Regions from separate parts of the Homo sapiens genome. Here regions 1, 2, 4 and 5 are each linked to region 3. The links are contacts of gene promoters, found by promoter capture Hi-C in blood cells and fetal thymus (Javierre and others, 2016). All regions are on one chromosome and are shown on one strand. The core of a region is centred on a gene start or on the middle of the fragment in contact, and the rest is flanking DNA. Distances in the headings are between cores, read along the strand shown.

Region 1 (3,509 bases), core at 946-3,445, 380 kb after region 3:
TTGGGCCTACAGGAAAACCATTCATAAGTCAATGTAAGCTCATATCTACTGAAAGAGTAGATTTGAGTTTTTTGAGTAGATATGAGCTTTTACACCCTAAGTTACAATGAAAAGATTCACTGAAGAAGGATTCAATCATGCTGTACTACTTCCTGGAGTTGGCAGAGAAATCATCCATTTCTTGGTAGTTGAAAGAAGGCTGATCCAAGAACACAGTGAAGAGATGTTCCCATTTCTCAAGGTGTTTCATCTTCCTGGCCATGATGATTTAGCACCTGCAAAATTCCCAAACCTACGCAATGTGGTTAATGCGGGGAAGCAGACATTGGACTACCAACTTCCAAAGAGTCACTATCTCGACTAGCAGATCATGAGGTAGATGAGGCAGTTTCAAGACCTCCCTTGAAGAAGGCAGTGATGAATAAAGAAGAGGAGGATGGGTTATGAGCAGCATTTAGTGTGACATCTGAAGAGATCAAGATGCCACTATCAGACAAGAAAACCAATAACCAGACTAATTTCACACAGCTTCTTCAGGCAATGGAATCAAGAGATAGGATGCAGACTTAGAAAAAAAGAAAGAAAATTCAGCAGGAGTTAGAGGGATCTAAAGGAGTTGTATATTTATTGCCTTCTGTAAACCAGGAGTAAAGGAGATAATTAAGGTTTTAAATAATCCAGTTTCTTAGTCACCAAAAGTACCAAGACTTCCTCCTATTAATGAGGCTGAAGGCTCAGTTTAAGCTGTTCTCTGCCATCTGGCCCTTGTACTTGGGAGACTAAAGCCACTGTGGACATTTAAATGAGAGAGATTTGCACTCTCTCATTTTTCACAGCCTATGCTACAGCAATCATGACTACTTTTGGATAAAACAAAAGTTCCTTAAATAATATACTCATGGCATTTTTATTTTCTTTTCTTGTTCCTACACTGCCCAACAAAAAGAGTCTCTTCCAATGTCATTGAGTTTGCACCACATTCTAGAATAATAAATGGAACTGGATCATTCTGAGAACTATATTGTAAAAAGCAAATATTCTACTTTAAAGAACACACTTTTTTTGGTTTGTTTTTTAGACAGAGTCTCACTCTGTTGCCTAGGCTGGAGTGCAGTGGCATGATCTCAGCTCAAGTGATCCTCCCACCTCAGCCTCCCAAGTAGCTGGGATTACAGGCATGTGCCACTAGGCCTGGCTAATTTTTGTATTTTTTGTAGAGGCAGGGTTTCACCATGTTGCCCAGGCTGGTCTTGAACTCCTGGGCTCAAGGAATCCACCCACCTCAGCCTCCCAAAGTGCTGGGATTACAGGCATGAGCCACTAATACCCAGCCAAGAGCACACATTTAGGATAGAACTTGAGCATACTTTTGTTCTGGAAGAGGACAGAAATAGAGCAAGGGACAGGAAACAACAAACAAAACCCAGTAGCAGTGAGTTAGCTTCTGTCCCGTCTCCACCCTTGTAAGTAGGACACTGGCTTAACAATTAGTTTTATTATCAGCCCTCACTGTTTAAATCTTAGCAGAGAAAAAGAAAAGCTGTTGAAGAGAATAAAATTAAGAAACATAAAAAGGGAAAACTTGATTATCACCAGTTTCTGGATTTTTAGTTTTCTTCTTCTAACTGAAGTTCACTCAGATCTAGGGAATAGCATTAAGCTTAACGTGAAAGTGGGGGGAAAAATGTGGCACATTGAAGTGGCAGGTAGCTGTAAAGAGAAGAGGGAAGCATTTTTAAACTGTAGTAAGGTTTATCCGAGAGTGATTACTTTTATAAGGAAGAGATTCTATGAAAATGCAGCAAGGAGGCTGGTCCGTGGAGTACCACAAAGCTGGGGAACTGCAGTTTTCATGCTGATTCTCTATCTTTACCACTCTGGGTCAATTGTGGCAGAGAAGCTGTTTTATCTTCCTTGGGCATGGGAGAGGAAAGGAGGAGGGATGCATATGACTCAGTTTTTAAATCAGTACCTTACAGGGTTATTTAGTAAAGTGGTAAGGCTTCTGTAAAATGCTTTGAGTGACTAGGAAACAAATCAGAGGCAAAATAACAACATAAAATAATAACACCAAACATCAGAGAACTGAAGGGAAGAGGAGCGAGTCACTGAAAACCAGGGACACCAGTTGTCCAGGTCACCAACAGCTTCCTGGTGCTCCCCCACCCCACAGTCTGCTGTGAGCTCTTTCACCTAGAATGAGCCTAGAGAATGGCCTAGTGGGGCAAGGGACCTAGCACTGGCTCTCAGCCACAACTAACACCACATCCCAAATTACCCCTCCAGAACAGATGCCGAGGGACACTAGAAGCGAGGAGTAGTTGGGATACTTTTGCTACACCTTCTATCTTGAGAGAAAGAGATTTAAACCAATAGTATAATACATCAGTTGAAATACATCTGACGATAATAACAAAGATGCATTGACCTATAAAAAGTCATTTAATGCATATTCCAGATGGCCAATACAAGCTGGTTAGGTAATTAGCCCTTGAAGAATTCTTTTATAATCATATAAAAATGTTTTGTCTTGTTTAAAAAAAGTCTACTCTAACAAAAACATCCACCAATGGGCTTGCATTTTTTCCATTTGCAGGTTTGTAAGATCATAAAAATATACACATATGCATCTCTGGGCATATCTCTGTCCACTAGCTAATCAGTTTTGGCAATACACTGCATAGGGGTATACTACCATTGGTTTCTGACATTAAGTTAGCTTTAAGCTTATTGGCTATTCCAACAACTGGAGGCAGCTTAGAACCCAATCCCTGGAAAGCACTTGCAGGATTAACTACCCGTTTCCCTGACACCTTGTCTATGGTGGTGAGAGGTCTGGGGACAGACTTGCTAATCCAAGGGTGTCTTAATGCTTGAGCTGGGGTCAAGCGGGCAGAGGGGTCCCAGTGAAGACACCTTTTCAAGAACTCTATAAACAAGTAGTCATCACACCCTTTCAGTGCTGTCCCCCAGTCTTTGCTGCCTGGGGGACCCCGCTTTTTACCCCTACGTGAGCGACCCCCCACAAGCACAACCCTCCCATCTGCCTGGGTAGTCACAGAGCAGTAGCGGGGTATGCCCTTGGAATTAATAAAGTACTTGGCACGTTTGGATTGCTCCAGAAGTTTTGGTGGTGGCATCCCTAGAAGCTCCATCATGCAGGCCAACTGGTCTCCTTCATCCTCTCCAGGGAAGAGAGGCTGTCCTGTTAAAAGTTCTGCAAGGATGCAGCCAAAACTCCATATGTCAATTGGTGTGCTGTAGCGGCTTCCTAAGATGATTTCTGGAGCTCTGTAGAACCGAGACTGGATATATGTGTAGAGCTTCTGGTACTCGAAACAGCTGGACCCAAAGTCAATGACCTTGGTTGAACTGCGCCCGTGGTGTTTCAGGAGAATGTTTTCTGGCTTCAGATCGCAGTGAATAATCTTATTTTTGTGGAGGGCATCCAAAGATTGCAAGATGGACTGGGCAAACTTGCGTACCAACTGGACGCTAAAACCCTGAAA
Region 2 (3,355 bases), core at 95-2,594, 400 kb before region 3:
AGAATATGCAAACTTATCCCTATTGGATTTATTTATTTTTGACAGTATAAACGCCAATGCCAGGATTAAAAATTATAAGTGTAATTATACTGACTTTGGAGAGTGAGGTTTAAATTTAACATGATTTCAAGCAGATACTTCCAACAAAATACCCCCTTGGTAACACCCTAGACTTTGTCATGTCCTAATATGGCACCACTTCCAAAATCTCTAATTCAGACATCCTGCTGTCTACATACAATCTCCACTGCATTCAGCTTACCTATTTCAGTGTCAAACTGCTTGACCTTCGTTTGACTTCATGAGAACTTTCTGTCGCCTTTCCCCTTATTCTAATCTATTTGCCCACTCTTTCTTCAGTTCCTTCCTTAATCAGTCAAAAGTCTATACCACAAGTTCAACAGCACTCCTGCCAGTAACAAACTCCTTTGCCTGCTTCCTTATGGCAACTGTTTAGAAAATCCCAAACCTCAATCATTGTTACTTTCTGCTTTCCTTACCTAAGCACTGAGATAGAGCCACATGGCAGGTTGCACTGGTGGATAAATTCAGGATAACTAATTTCAAATAGACTCAACCTTGTGTGGCAACCTTACCATTGTTTTCCTCTTTTTAATTCACTTTATCAATGATTACTTTGTATCTTCTTTATACTCCTCACCCTTCCAACCATAACTGACCCTTTTCTGCCTGTCTTCTCACCTCCTTCTTCACTGAGAAGCCGTCGGAGATCTAGTCTCCCAATTTCCTGCTAGCAACTCTAGGAACCTCCATCTGCATTCATCTTTTCTTTTTTCCATTTTCTCTCTTCTCTTATTGAAGGTCAGTTCTTTCACATGAGGTCTTGGATTCTACTCTTTCCTGATTTTTCAGAAACATTTAACTATCAAACAATTCCACTCTTGCCTGTATTTTCAACTGTGTTCTAACATTGGATCATTCCCCGTGACATTTAAAAGAGCTAAAAAAAATCTCAAAAGACTTTCTTCCCCCAACTTCTAACCCTTTCTCCTCACTTTCAGAGCTAAATTTCTTTTTCTTTCTTTCTTTCCTTCTTTCTCTCTTTCTTTCTTTCTTTCTTTCTTTCTTTCTTTCTTTCTTTCTTTCTTTCTTTCTTTCTTTCTTTTTCTTTTTTAACTTTTTGAGACGGAGTCTTGCTCTGTCACCCAGGCTGGAGTGCAGTGGCTTGATCTCAGTTCACTGAAACCTCCACCTCCTGGATTCAAGTGATTCCCCTGCCTCAGCCTCCCAAGTAGCTGAGATTACAGGCACGCACCACCACACCCGGCTAATTTTTTTGTATTTTAGTAGAGATGGGGTTTCACCATGTTGGCCAAGATGGTCTCAATCTCCTGACCTCGTGATCTCCCCACCTCAGCCTCCCAAAGTGCTGGGATTACAGGTGTGAGCAACTGTGCCCAGCCTCAGCCAAATTTCTTAATGTCTTGAAAGAGTTACAGATGGCCTGTCCTTTTCAACACCTTTTACTAATGTTCAACCTACTTTGATTTAGCCTCTGTCTCTCTCATTATGACTAACGATCACCTTCATATTGCCAAAGCCAATGAACATTTTTCAGTTCTTGGTGGAATTTGACATTAACCACTGTTTTCTTCTTGAAACAATTTGTTCTGCTGTCTTCCCCAGATATCATTATCTGCTGGTTATCTGCTTAGCTCTCTGGTCATTCTTCCTCTCTATATACATATATATCTTTTTTTCCAGTTTATCCTCCTCTGTCTGGTGATTAAATGTTGGAGTTTCTCGAGGCTGAATCCTGGGCTCTTTTCACATTCTATTATATCTCCACAGGCAAATGTATCTATTACGTCTATGACTTGAAAAATTCTAAATTGAGCTCACACCTGTCTTCTAAGCCTAAGACCCTGTATACCTTATTTTGCCTCTCCATGTGGATACTTCAGTATCAATATGTCAAACACCAAACTCAGTCCTCCCTGACAGAGCAGGAGCACCATCATCTTGGACAAACACTGCCACTTTAAGTTCCAGCTCTTTTTCTAGCCTCATGCATTTCAAGGAAATCACTTTTCTTCTAACAACAAGTGCCCAGAAAGAGCAGACAGTAAAATACAGATAAGACAGCTGGGGCACAGAGGGAGGTGGTGGGGAAGTCTCTTGGGTAACTGCCAAACTTCACCCTCATACAATGGGCCCCAGTAAAACAGTGGGCCTTAATAAGCACATTCCTTTCCATTTAAGTGCACTAAGGGAAGCTAAAAGCAGACTTGGGAGGAGGGTGGGTATGCCTGCAGCTGCAGGAAGATGTATGGGAACAGACACAAAGCTCTCCCTCCCAGATAAGTGCAACAAAGAAACACAGAAGGAGTACAAGCCTCTGATAAACTCTTCCACCCTGAATCCTTAAAAACTCTTAGTCTCTAAGAAAGTAGGCTCTAACCTAACTCAGCCAGAAGCCCCTCTCATGTTTGTTTTCTCTAAAATAAACCCGTCCTTAACTGTCAAGCCACCTTTCATGTATCTTTCCTCTTTCTTTAATTCTTACACTCCCTCCAAAGTTATTGGTTCCTGCCAATGTTTCTAATCTCATTGAATAGTACCATCATGCATCCAGTCACCTAATTTACAAATCTCAGGTTCATCCATGATATCTCATGCTTTTCATTCTCCAATATCTAATCCATCTTTGAGATCCATCTATTTTTTGTTCAAAATACCTCTTTATCCATACTTCCCATATCTTCTGCCAGCATATTCCAAGCTACCATCTCTATCTTAAAATAATGCACTTTTCTTTTAATTGATGTCCCTTCAATTTTTGTGCCTCCCATTCATATTCATTTTTGACATCACACAGAGAGTGATATCTTCAAAATGCAAATCTCATTTTGTTCTATTTGATAGAATAAATTCCTCCTTGTTATTGAAATCACAAAAAAGTCACCCCCACTCCCCTTGCACACACAATTTTATCTATCCCTGAAGCTTTCAAAATTGTTAAAGGCTTTCCATTGTTTTTAAGCTATGGACCAACATCCTTAATATCCTCAAAGTTCTTGGTTCCAAGAAGCTGCATTGTCGGGCTCTTGATGATCATTGTAGCTCTCCTTATACTATCCTCCTGGGTTTCTCTCTGCCCTAGTCATGCCGTAGGGCTATAATATTCTTTAGAATGAAGAGGTGAACAAGGTCCCTACAGATAGATTAAGACAGACAGAGAATTGATACAACCCAAAGTAGAACAGAAAAGATGTGTTAATAACCACGCCAGGTGAAAAGAAACTGTTTCTGGTGTATTTTATTAACAGGTCAAGAGAAAAATACTTTGAATCAACAGCTGCATTGCAGGTAGAAGGGTACATGCTTATTGGCT
Region 3 (3,289 bases), core at 760-3,259:
TTCCTGAACTGGATGTTAGGTACGGTTATGTTTGTTATGTCAGTGTATCTGAAATATTTCATAATTTACAAAAAGAAAAAGTTTTTGAGAGGAAAGGGAGGAAGGGAAAGATGATTTTTGTCTATGTCCCTGCTTCTACCTGGTAAAAGATAGGGGTTCCTCCTAGTTATCCTAATTTTATTATAACTGAAAAACTGTGTCTGTTCACAAATAAGACTGTTGCCTACTATCCTCTTGGAAGTTAATTCTCATAAGTCAATTCATTTTTTTAGCAAATGTTCAAATCACACACCTATGGAGCTGGATCAACTTCATTGACTTCATCCATGGGTGTGACTCTGGTTGCACTGAACTGCTGATTTGGAGATGCCCTTCCTGTTTTGTTAGTATTATGACATCATATATGTTTGAATGACACACCAGGGAAAGAGGTCATAGCCCGAAGTGCTCATTCAGCTGTGATATCCATAGGCTGCTGATAGGGTACTGGGTTATCCCAGGCTTCCTCCAACCTCCTTCCTATCCATTAGTCCTGCTCCACTTCATCTTTACCTTGGCCCCAGGATCACTGCCCTTTTTATTTCCTATCCAACCATGATCACAGAAAGAGAAAAGATGAAAGCCATGTGTCGTCTTGTTATAAAACATATTAATAGCTTTAAGTAGGAAATGAAACAGAAAAGGACGAATCTAATAGCTAGAATTACACTTGCAAATTATCTGTGTATTTCATGATTCCCACTTGAGATTCCTTCCAAAATAGAGGCGGATTGGCATTATGCTGATTCATAGCAACCTTGATGTTATACTGCCTGAATTAAAATCTCTGCCCTGCCTCTTCCTAGCTACATGGCCTTGAAAAAGATTTTTAACCTCCCTGTAAAATTTAGATATTAACAAATGCCTACTTTTTTAAGTTAAAGACTAAATTAAAAGATACATGAAAATGCTCAGCACAATACCTAGCAAATAGCAAGAGCTTAATACATTTTGGCAATTATTGTGTACATTGATTTTAAATTTTCTCCCTGACCTTTTAATGCTAGTAAGTGGAATACCTCAAATCCTGATACCTATCAAGGATAATCTACCTGTAGGAAAAACCAGCTTCCAGGCAAAAATCATATCTGTTAAGAGTGGTCTCTGTACCTGGTGGGAAATTTCTTCCCAAAAATAGTAGATTCTTCTACCTACTCTCTTCTCCCTACGAATGCCAAGTATCAGTCCATGAAAGGAGACAAGAGTTGCTAAACTGGTTGGTAGTTTGTTTTGTTTTTATTTCATAATATGTATTGCCACCTTCCATGAACAGCCAAAAGAGAGCAGAGGACCAAATGACAGAGTGCATGCTCTCTCCTTTCAAGCTGTCCAGTCACTCTTTCATCAGGACACGGACCTCTTAGGGGATGAATGGTTTTATTTCCCCCAGAAATAAATTAGGCCAAGGAGATTGTTGGCAAGCACTGGGGCGAGACTGGCCCAACTACAGCATCCCTAGCCTGGGGACACCTTCTTCAGTGGACATGAATGGAATTGCTAGGCTTATGAGCTAGGATTAGGCTTGGGGAAGAAAGTGACTTTCAACATCTAGAAAAGCTAGCAGCAAAACTGAACACAAATGAGTTTAGCCTAGAGAATTCAGGGGAAAACTAAGCTCCAAGCGGAAGAAGGTAGTTCTAGATGAAAAACCTGTTTCACATAGACCTATGGAAAAGCACACTGCCCAGAGGACTGTCTGCGTTCCTTTATATCAACATTAAATATATATACTATCTCTGCCTACTCCCTCCCTGCCACCTGTCCTTCCAGTCTCAGCCCAAACCGGCTCCTCCTCCTTCCAGCCCTCCTTTTTTAAAGAGCTCTTTATTAGCTCTAAACAGGAAAGGGGAGGGTAGGAGATGATTGGCTAAGAGGGAACAGCACCACCCTGCTCATTCCCCTCCCATTCCCTCCCTGAGGAAACAGCTGGAATGAGAGGTAGGGAGGGGAGGCTAGGATTGGCTGAGTCAGTGGCAGGGTGGGGGCCAGGCAGCACAGATGAAGCATTTACCTATCTAGGTAAGTCAGGAGGAGCTCAAAAGGAGAAGAAAACAGTAGGAGGCAGGGGAAGCAGCCTCTGTCTCCATCTCTGCCCTTTGAAACAAAAGGGTATTTCTTTTCTCTCTTCAGCCCCCAACCCAGTGGAGGTGAGTTAATCACTAACCAACTATTGCTTATCCTATAGCAATAGGAAGGGGTTTCATGGGAAATCAGAGCTACAGGGGAGGGGAGGTGTCCCTCTATACCCCAGCTAGGGAGATTTCCTCTCTGTTCCTCAATTCTCTGAGTCCATTCTGGGATCAGATCAGGTTGGTAGCAACTTGAGATTGTAGTGTTTTTGTGGAGACTGGGGCTGGGAGGCACCTTCTTTTTCATTTATCCCTTTAGGTTGGATAGGCATATTGTGCAAACAACAAGAAAAAGAAAATAGATTTGTTTTGGAAATTTCCATCTCTGAACAATTGAAATTGAGTTGTGATTTTAGAAAAGAACAGTTGAAATAGAGGGAGTCAAAATGGGGGAGAGTATCTTGGTTTTCCATAGCGACTGTAACAGGAAATTCTCCCGTGGCTTTACCAACTCGGTGTCGATCTTTATTTAAATAATGGGTGCAATGTGTGTGTGTGTTTGATCATGCTCATGTGATAATGGAGCTCTCTGTGTACAGGTGTGTTAGGCATGAGCTGTACTAGGTTGTTTGTAAAGGGATATGAGGTTGGGGCACATGGAGAAAACTTCAGCTACCAGCTCATCTTTGGAAAACCCATGGATAATCTAGCTGCAAAGTCAAGTTTATTTGGATTCTACTCAATTAACTTTCTGACTCAGCCTGTTAATAGACACAGAGACTGGCAAACAGAAAGCTACCTGGCTGTGCCGAGCCTCACCCACATGAATATTTCGTGGCTGCATGTCAAGTCTAGTTAGAGTTCCAAGTGGGGCTCAAGCCAAGGTAGTGTGGCAGAGTCCACAGACAGAGAAGCAGACCAGGGTGGTGGCTTTGTTTGTTTTCCTGCAGGTGTCCCAGTTGGCAGTTTGTGTGGCAGATTTACCTGCAGAAGGAAGGCAGATGTAGGAGTCGAGTCAGAGTAGCAAGTTGCCTCTCCATTATCCATCTTGGGGGGTTTAACCCTTTGGTCCCTAACTTTGACTCTTTTCCTCCTGCTGCAGAGAAGAGGGAAGTGGGAAGCCCTCAGTGCCAGGCTCAAGGGCCTGGCACACGCAGCCCTGAGTGAATATATGGGTTTTC
Region 4 (3,209 bases), core at 489-2,988, 340 kb before region 3:
TTTCTTGGACTTATGAATAACAACCTCACCTGTTTTTGTTCATATAGTAGTAACACTTATGATTAAAAAGCTAATGATTAAAGTAAATTATAATTTTTCAGAAATAATGAATTTTCCTTATATAATCAATAATACAATTGAATTATTTCTTTCACACATACAAACCTTCATTATCTTTTGTCCAGCTCACTTCAACAAAAACTTCATTGGAATTTGTTTGGAATTGCATTGATTTTATTTTTAAATTTGTGATGACTAGTTATTTTCACATTTTTCAACAAGGAAATGACTTACCTTAAATTTTCAGAGCTGTTCTTACAATTTTTAAAGAAATGTGAATAGTTCCTTCACATATTTGAAGAATCTTCCTGGGTACCTACATTCTTCGATATTTTAAGATGATTATCACTCATAAACAGGATTATTTTTGCATTGTCATATCCAATTTATTATTGTCACTATTTACCTAATATTAGGTCCATTGTTAAATCCAACATATTTTGTTAGAGTTTAATTGGATTGTCTAGGTAGGTATTCATGTAATTTGTAATTATTTTTTTTCTTATCTCGGCTGGAAGATTTTGAGTTTTATTGCAAACCATACTGTACAGACCCAGGACGCAGTGCCATCCTCAAGCATTTTGTGATCCCCAGGCCTCCTCCTCTCCGGCGGCCTTTGGTCAGCCCGGTCCCAACCCGCACCCACACTCCTCCTTGGTTTGTGGATAGATTCCTTCTCCAATACATGGTTAAGACCAGGTTTACTCAGTTCCCATGGCAACTTAGAGGGGCCATTTCCAGCCTTAGCCCTGAAATGCCATCATTCTGTGTTCATTCTAATACTTCACACCTCGGAAAATTATTTTGATTTTCTTTACTCTGACTCCTAGTGAATGTCAACATCTTTTCATATGTTCTTGATCAATCTGATTTACCTTGCTAAAAATTTCCTATCAGTATACCTGTCCACGTTGTATTGGGTTTTATGTCATTTACCTATCAATGTAAGAGCTTTTTGTCTATTATAGACACAAACCATTAATCTCTCTTTTGTGTTTTAGCAATTTATTTCCACTTTTTCTAACCATTATTTACATTTTTTGCATTGTCAAAAATGTCTATATTTCTTTAACTCTTACGATTCCAATCTTTGTTTTAAAGTTTTTTACAGACCTTAGATTGAGGTGTCAGGTTTTATTTGATATTCTATGTTTATATATGTATCTTGACTAATATGTTAAAACTTTTTATTTAGTTTGTTGCTCTTTAGTTTCCACAGATGAGTTCAAATTCCTTTATTTTTAATGTTTTCCTTAATAACGAAGGCATTTAAAGCTTGCAAGTTCCACTGAAAAGTTCTCTGTGTTCCAAATAATTTAGTGTGTTCTTCTTTTCACTCTTTCCTAAATAGTTTTTAATTTTTTAAATTTTATCTTTGATATAAGGGTGATCTAGGAGCATCTTAATTTTCAAGTGGTTAAGATTTTGTTGATCACCTTCTCTCTTTTTCATATTTATCAACACGGCCTTTTAAAAAAGTGAATATACTTTATGGCCAAGTATATGACGTTTTTGAGCAAATGTTTCATTGATGTATGGAAAAACCCCTCATATCTTTGATTCTAAGAAACATTTTTCTCACGTGTTAACATCTCTAGAATTGGGATGCATCTCTTTACAGCTGTCAGCCCATAGGAGTGGCATTGTAGTTGTGTAAAACCTTCACTTGACATGTTCTGGTAAGATCAAGAAATCAAGAAAGCACCAGTATCAAAATGTCTTAGTGTAGAGGAAAGCCAACATATTGTCTCTAGATAATATAAGGTTGTTTTTCCCTGTCCTGGGTTTCTTTCTCTCTACAAAATCTGTTTGATTTTGGTAGAGATGTATTGAAATCTTCAGTCATAATTATATTTTATTAGGCTTATCAAATTCCTAATGACTTTGCTTTATGTATTTAGCTAGTTGCATGTAGTTTGATATATACATATTTATGAATGTTACCTTTTTCATAAATCTTTGCCTTTTATAATTGGTCTGACCTTACATTTTATCTTTGCTTATCTTTTATTTTCCACCCTTCTTTACTATTTCACCATGTCCCTCATACACAGCTTTTGTTTTCTAATCTTTAAGCTTTAGTGAAAGAAAACAATCCATTTACATTTTATTTAATGTCTGTATCTTAGTTTCTTCATTATCTATTTTAAATCATTATTTCCTTTTTTTCTTATTTTTGTTGTTTTTTTTTTCAGGTTCATCTCATTCTTTCAAAGATTAGTTGTGTGTTTCCATTTCATTCATTGTTAACAACATGTCTGCTCTCAAGAACAAGTATATATGAATCTATCCCTTTTCCCACACAGCTGTATTACCTCAACTTTCTTCCCTATACAAACTAGATGAGACCTCTAGAACACTTCTTCCTTTTGTTCTTTTTTTCTCTGCCTTTTTCAGGTGATGAGACTTTTTCAAATGCTTTTACTTTGCCCTTCTACAGATTTCCTTAAAGTATGCTTTACTTCCTCAAATTATGTTGTTCAGAAATAAATAAAACAAAATGAATTGAGGTCTGTAATGAGTTTGATGACACAATACTAACCCTTGACTGTTTCTCTTTTTTATTTTGAGAAAAAAATTTAGAATACATAAAAGTATATATAAATATAACAACTGCCCATGTACCCATCATTCAAATTATATAAATTAACATTTTTAGTCAAATGCTTCATATCTTTTACTTTGTAATACAAGAAATAAAACATTACACATAAAGCTGAAGTACTCACTGTCGCCTATTAATACATTTCTGTTTTCTTCTACTCCCCCATTTGTGTTCCTTCCTATGATGAGGTGCACACATTGTGGTTAGGAATTCCATTTTTAAATAATGGTGGTCTAAGTTATTGGGACTAATAGCTCTCTAAAAAGCAATCAAGGTAACTAGATTTAAAAAAATTACAATCTTAAAACTACAGGTTAGCCAACAAAAAATGGACTCAATGGAGTGGGGAAGTATATTCCATCTACTATAGTGGAAGGCACTGAAAAGTCACCTGGCAAAAGATGTCCAGTTATAATTCTGTAAAAGGGAAGGAGTAAAGAATTAGAAACATTAATACAATCTACCAAAGAATGAAACAAACTAAAAAGTCTACTTAAAAAACTTGCAAATCACAACTGTAAAATGTGAAGAAATGCAATGCCAT
Region 5 (3,301 bases), core at 83-2,582, 380 kb before region 3:
TGCTGCTTCATCGTCTTAGTGGTAAGGGTATTCTAATTTTCATTTTATGGACTGGCTGTCAGATTTATTAAAGAGCCCATTTCTAGGTGCCAGTGTTGCATGGGACTTTAGACTCAAATCCAGAACCCTGGTATGTGCTAAAATCATGGCCCTCCCCCTAGGGATTTACCCCATTCTGTCTCCTCCATAAGTCACTGGGTTTAGCTCTTACTCACTACATTGATTTTCAATATTCTATTTATTTCCTCTCCCCGAGGATTTCTCTCTCTCTCTCTCTATCTCTCTCTCTCCCCCCCTTCTCTCTCTGTGTGTGTGTGTGTGTGTGTGTGTGTGTGTGTGTGTTTGAGACAGGGTCTCACCCTGTCTCTCAGGCTGGATGGAGTGCAGTGGCCTGATCTCAGCTTACCACAGCCTTAACCTCTCAGGCTCAAACAATCCTCCTACCTCAGCCTCCCAAGTAACTGAAACTATAGGCACGTGCCACCATGCCCTGCTAATTTTTTGTATTTTTTTGTAAAGTTGCTCAGGTTGGTCTCGAACTCTGCCTGCCTCAGCCTCCCAAAGTGCTGGGATTACAGGCGTGAGCCATCACAACTGGCCCAGGATTTCTCTTTCTTAATTTCAATCTCAGTTATGTATTTTTAAATTAATTTTTAAATTTATAATTGACACATAATTCTACATATTTCAGTGATACATTTAAAAATTAATTTGGATTCATTGTATCCATTTTTCTAATTATTTTGTGTGGGATGAGATGGCTTCAAAAGTCAGCCTTGTCATGATGTTGCCTTGATGTGTACTTATATGTAGTGTTAAGTACAACATAGTATTTCTCGAGTCATACATTTTCAGGAAGTGTCAATAGTCTTTAACTTCTTTTTTTATTGTTAATGGTTACATTCTTTTTTCTTTTTTACAAATAATTTTAACTTTTATTTTAGATTCAAGGGATGTGCAGTTTTATTGCATGGGTATATTATGGAATGCTTAGATTTGAATTATCCCATTACCCAGATAGTGAGCATAATACTCAACAGTTAGTTTTTCAACCCTTGCCTCCTTCCCCCTTCTATTAGTCCCGAGTGTCTATGTCCATGTCCCGAGTGTCTATGTCCATGAGTACTCAATGTTTAGCTCCCACTTATATGTGAGAACATGCAGTATTTGGTTTTCTGTTCCTGCATTAATTTGCTTAGTATAATGGCTTCCAGCTGCATCTGTGTTGTTGCAAAGAACATGGTTTCATTCTTTTTAATGGCTGTGTAGTATTCCATGGTGTATATGCACCACATTTTCTTTATCCAATCCACCATTGATGGACACTTAGGTTGATTCCATGTCTTCGCTATTGTGAATAGCATGGTGATAAATATACAAGTTCATATGTCTTTTGGTAGAATGATTTATTTTCTTTTGGATATATATACCTAAGTAATGGGGTTGCAGGATCAGATTATGCATTTTCTTTTGGATATATACCTAGTAATGGGATTGCTGGGTCAGATGGTAGTTCTGTTTTAAGTTTTTTGAGAACTCTTCAAACTGCTTTCCACAGTGGGTGAAACAATTTACATTCCCACCAACAGTGTATAAGATTTCCCTTTTCTCCACAGCCTTGCAAGCATCTGTTGTTTTTTGAGTTTTTCATAATAGCCATTCTGACAGGTATGGGATGGTATCTCATCATGGTTTTGATTTTCATTTTTCTGTTGATTAGTGATGTTGAGCATTGTTTCATACATTTCTTGGCCACTTATATGTCTTTTTTTTTTTTTTTTTTTTTTTTTTTTTGAGACAGAGTCTCGCTCTGTCACCCAGGCTGGAGTGCAGTGGTGCGATCTCGGCTCACTGCAAGCTCCGCCTGCCGGGTTCCTGCCATTCTCCTGCCTCAGCCTCCCGAGTAGCTGGGACTACAGGCGCCCGCCACCACGCCCGGCTAATTTTTTGTATTTTTAGTAGAGACAGGGTTTCACGTGTTAGCCAGGATGGTCTCGATCTCCTGACCTCGTGATCCGCCTGCCTTGGCCTCCCAAAGTGCTGGGATTACAGGCATGAGCCACCGCACCCGGCCTTGTATTTCTTCTTTTGAGAAGTATCTGTTCTTGTCCTTTGTCCATATTTTAATGGGGTTGTTTTTTGCCTGTTTAACTGTTTAAGTTCCTTATAGATTCTGGATATTAGAACTTTGTTGGATGCATAGTTTGTAAGTACTTTCTCCCATTAGTCTTTAACTTTTCATGAATATATTATTTATGTTATGCTTTGTTTCCCAAGTAAATTTCAAGTGCTAGTATAGCAATTTATTATATCCTTATTTGATTGTAAAGTACTGGCATGGAGCATGCTATTTTAATTTGTACGCTCCAGGGCTCCTAATGGAACCCCAGCCTAATACAGTTATGAATGAATATCTGTTGAAAAGAACACAAGAAATGATATTAATTTTTTTCTTTTTTCTTTTTTTTTTTTTTGAGACGGAGTTTCACTCTGGTTGCCCAGGCTGGAGTGCAATGGTGCGATCTTGGCTCACTGCAACCTCCGCCACCCAGGTTCAAGCAATTCTCCTGCCTCAGCCTCCCGAGTAGCTGGGATTACAGGCGTGTGCCACCACTCCCAGCTAATTTTGTATTTTTAGTAGAGACAGAGTTTCTTCATGTTGGTCAGGCTGGTCTTTAACTCCCGACCTCAGGTGATCTGCCCGCCTCGGCCTCCCAAAGTGCTGGGATTACAGGCATGAGCCACTGCACCTGGCCAGTTTAATTTCTTTAAAATGAAACTTAAGACAAAATTTTACCTTTTTGCCTCAAGATAATTGTTAGATATTCAAGTGTGTAAATGATCTCTTGACTAGCAGCTATTTTTTATTTTCTCTGTTAATCTGATTAGAAATATAGCATTAGAAAAACTCAGTAAGAAGTTGTATCTCCTCGAAGAAGCAATGCTTTCATTAGCTAGTGTGGAAAATGATAAAGTGGTTCCAATCCTTTTCCATTTTATTTGTTATAATTAATTCAGATATACAAAGATGTATTGACACTGATATAATAAACATATAACAACCAGCAAAATAAACAAAACCTTATAAATGGGAGTAGGAATGGAGGAGAAATGAATGGTGGTACTCTCAGGTGGCTGTTATGGGACCACCCAGGGACAGTATCAGAATCTGAAGCCACAGTAGAGTGGGATGCAGGGGCAGGAAGACCCTTCTGTGAGAAGGAGGTGGGGGCTGGTGAGTGCCCTAAAACCTGTTCCTGCTTGCTTATGGCTCCAGAAGGAGTGGGTATCTCCCAGAGGG

Evidence for each region. The method cuts DNA at HindIII sites, captures the fragments that hold promoters and counts their contacts. A CHiCAGO score of 5 or more calls a contact.
Region 1: a fragment that was not itself captured here is called in contact with the fragment with the promoter of C1orf116 in region 3 in 3 of 17 cell types (non-activated CD4 T cells, naive B cells and total B cells); the score reaches 5.7 in non-activated CD4 T cells.
Region 2: a contact is called between a fragment that was not itself captured here and the fragment with the promoter of C1orf116 in region 3, in 4 of 17 cell types (neutrophils, monocytes, naive CD8 T cells and 1 more). The highest score is 7.5, in neutrophils.
Region 4: a contact is called between a fragment that was not itself captured here and the fragment with the promoter of C1orf116 in region 3, in 1 of 17 cell types (monocytes). The highest score is 5.3, in monocytes.
Region 5: a fragment that was not itself captured here is called in contact with the fragment with the promoter of C1orf116 in region 3 in 6 of 17 cell types (naive CD4 T cells, naive CD8 T cells, total CD4 T cells and 3 more); the score reaches 8.4 in naive CD4 T cells.

The regions. Positions count from the first base shown.
Region 1 is chr1:206,648,108-206,651,616 of GRCh38, reverse strand. It overlaps DYRK3 (dual specificity tyrosine phosphorylation regulated kinase 3), which reads right to left. Exons shown (of 3, transcript NM_003582.4): 3 at 1-3,509. The coding sequence ends at 2,652. Among named protein-coding and RNA genes, the nearest start is that of DYRK3-AS1, 14 kb to the right of the region's middle. The HindIII fragment of the contact is 1,066 bases long and covers 1,663-2,728 here.
Region 2 is chr1:207,427,169-207,430,523 of GRCh38, reverse strand. No RefSeq gene overlaps it. Among named protein-coding and RNA genes, the nearest start is that of CR2, 25 kb to the left of the region's middle. The HindIII fragment of the contact is 3,250 bases long and covers 1-2,969 here.
Region 3 is chr1:207,031,476-207,034,764 of GRCh38, reverse strand. C1orf116 (chromosome 1 open reading frame 116) reads left to right here and starts at 2,009. Exons shown (of 4, transcript NM_023938.6): 1 at 2,009-2,186. It also overlaps a transcript of PFKFB2 not described here. The HindIII fragment of the contact is 5,727 bases long and covers 1-3,289 here.
Region 4 is chr1:207,372,642-207,375,850 of GRCh38, reverse strand. No RefSeq gene overlaps it. Among named protein-coding and RNA genes, the nearest start is that of CD55, 53 kb to the right of the region's middle. The HindIII fragment of the contact is 801 bases long and covers 1,338-2,138 here.
Region 5 is chr1:207,408,955-207,412,255 of GRCh38, reverse strand. All of the region lies in intron 1 of LOC124904498 (a long non-coding RNA gene), which reads left to right. Among named protein-coding and RNA genes, the nearest start is that of CR2, 44 kb to the left of the region's middle. The HindIII fragment of the contact is 5,588 bases long and covers 1-3,301 here.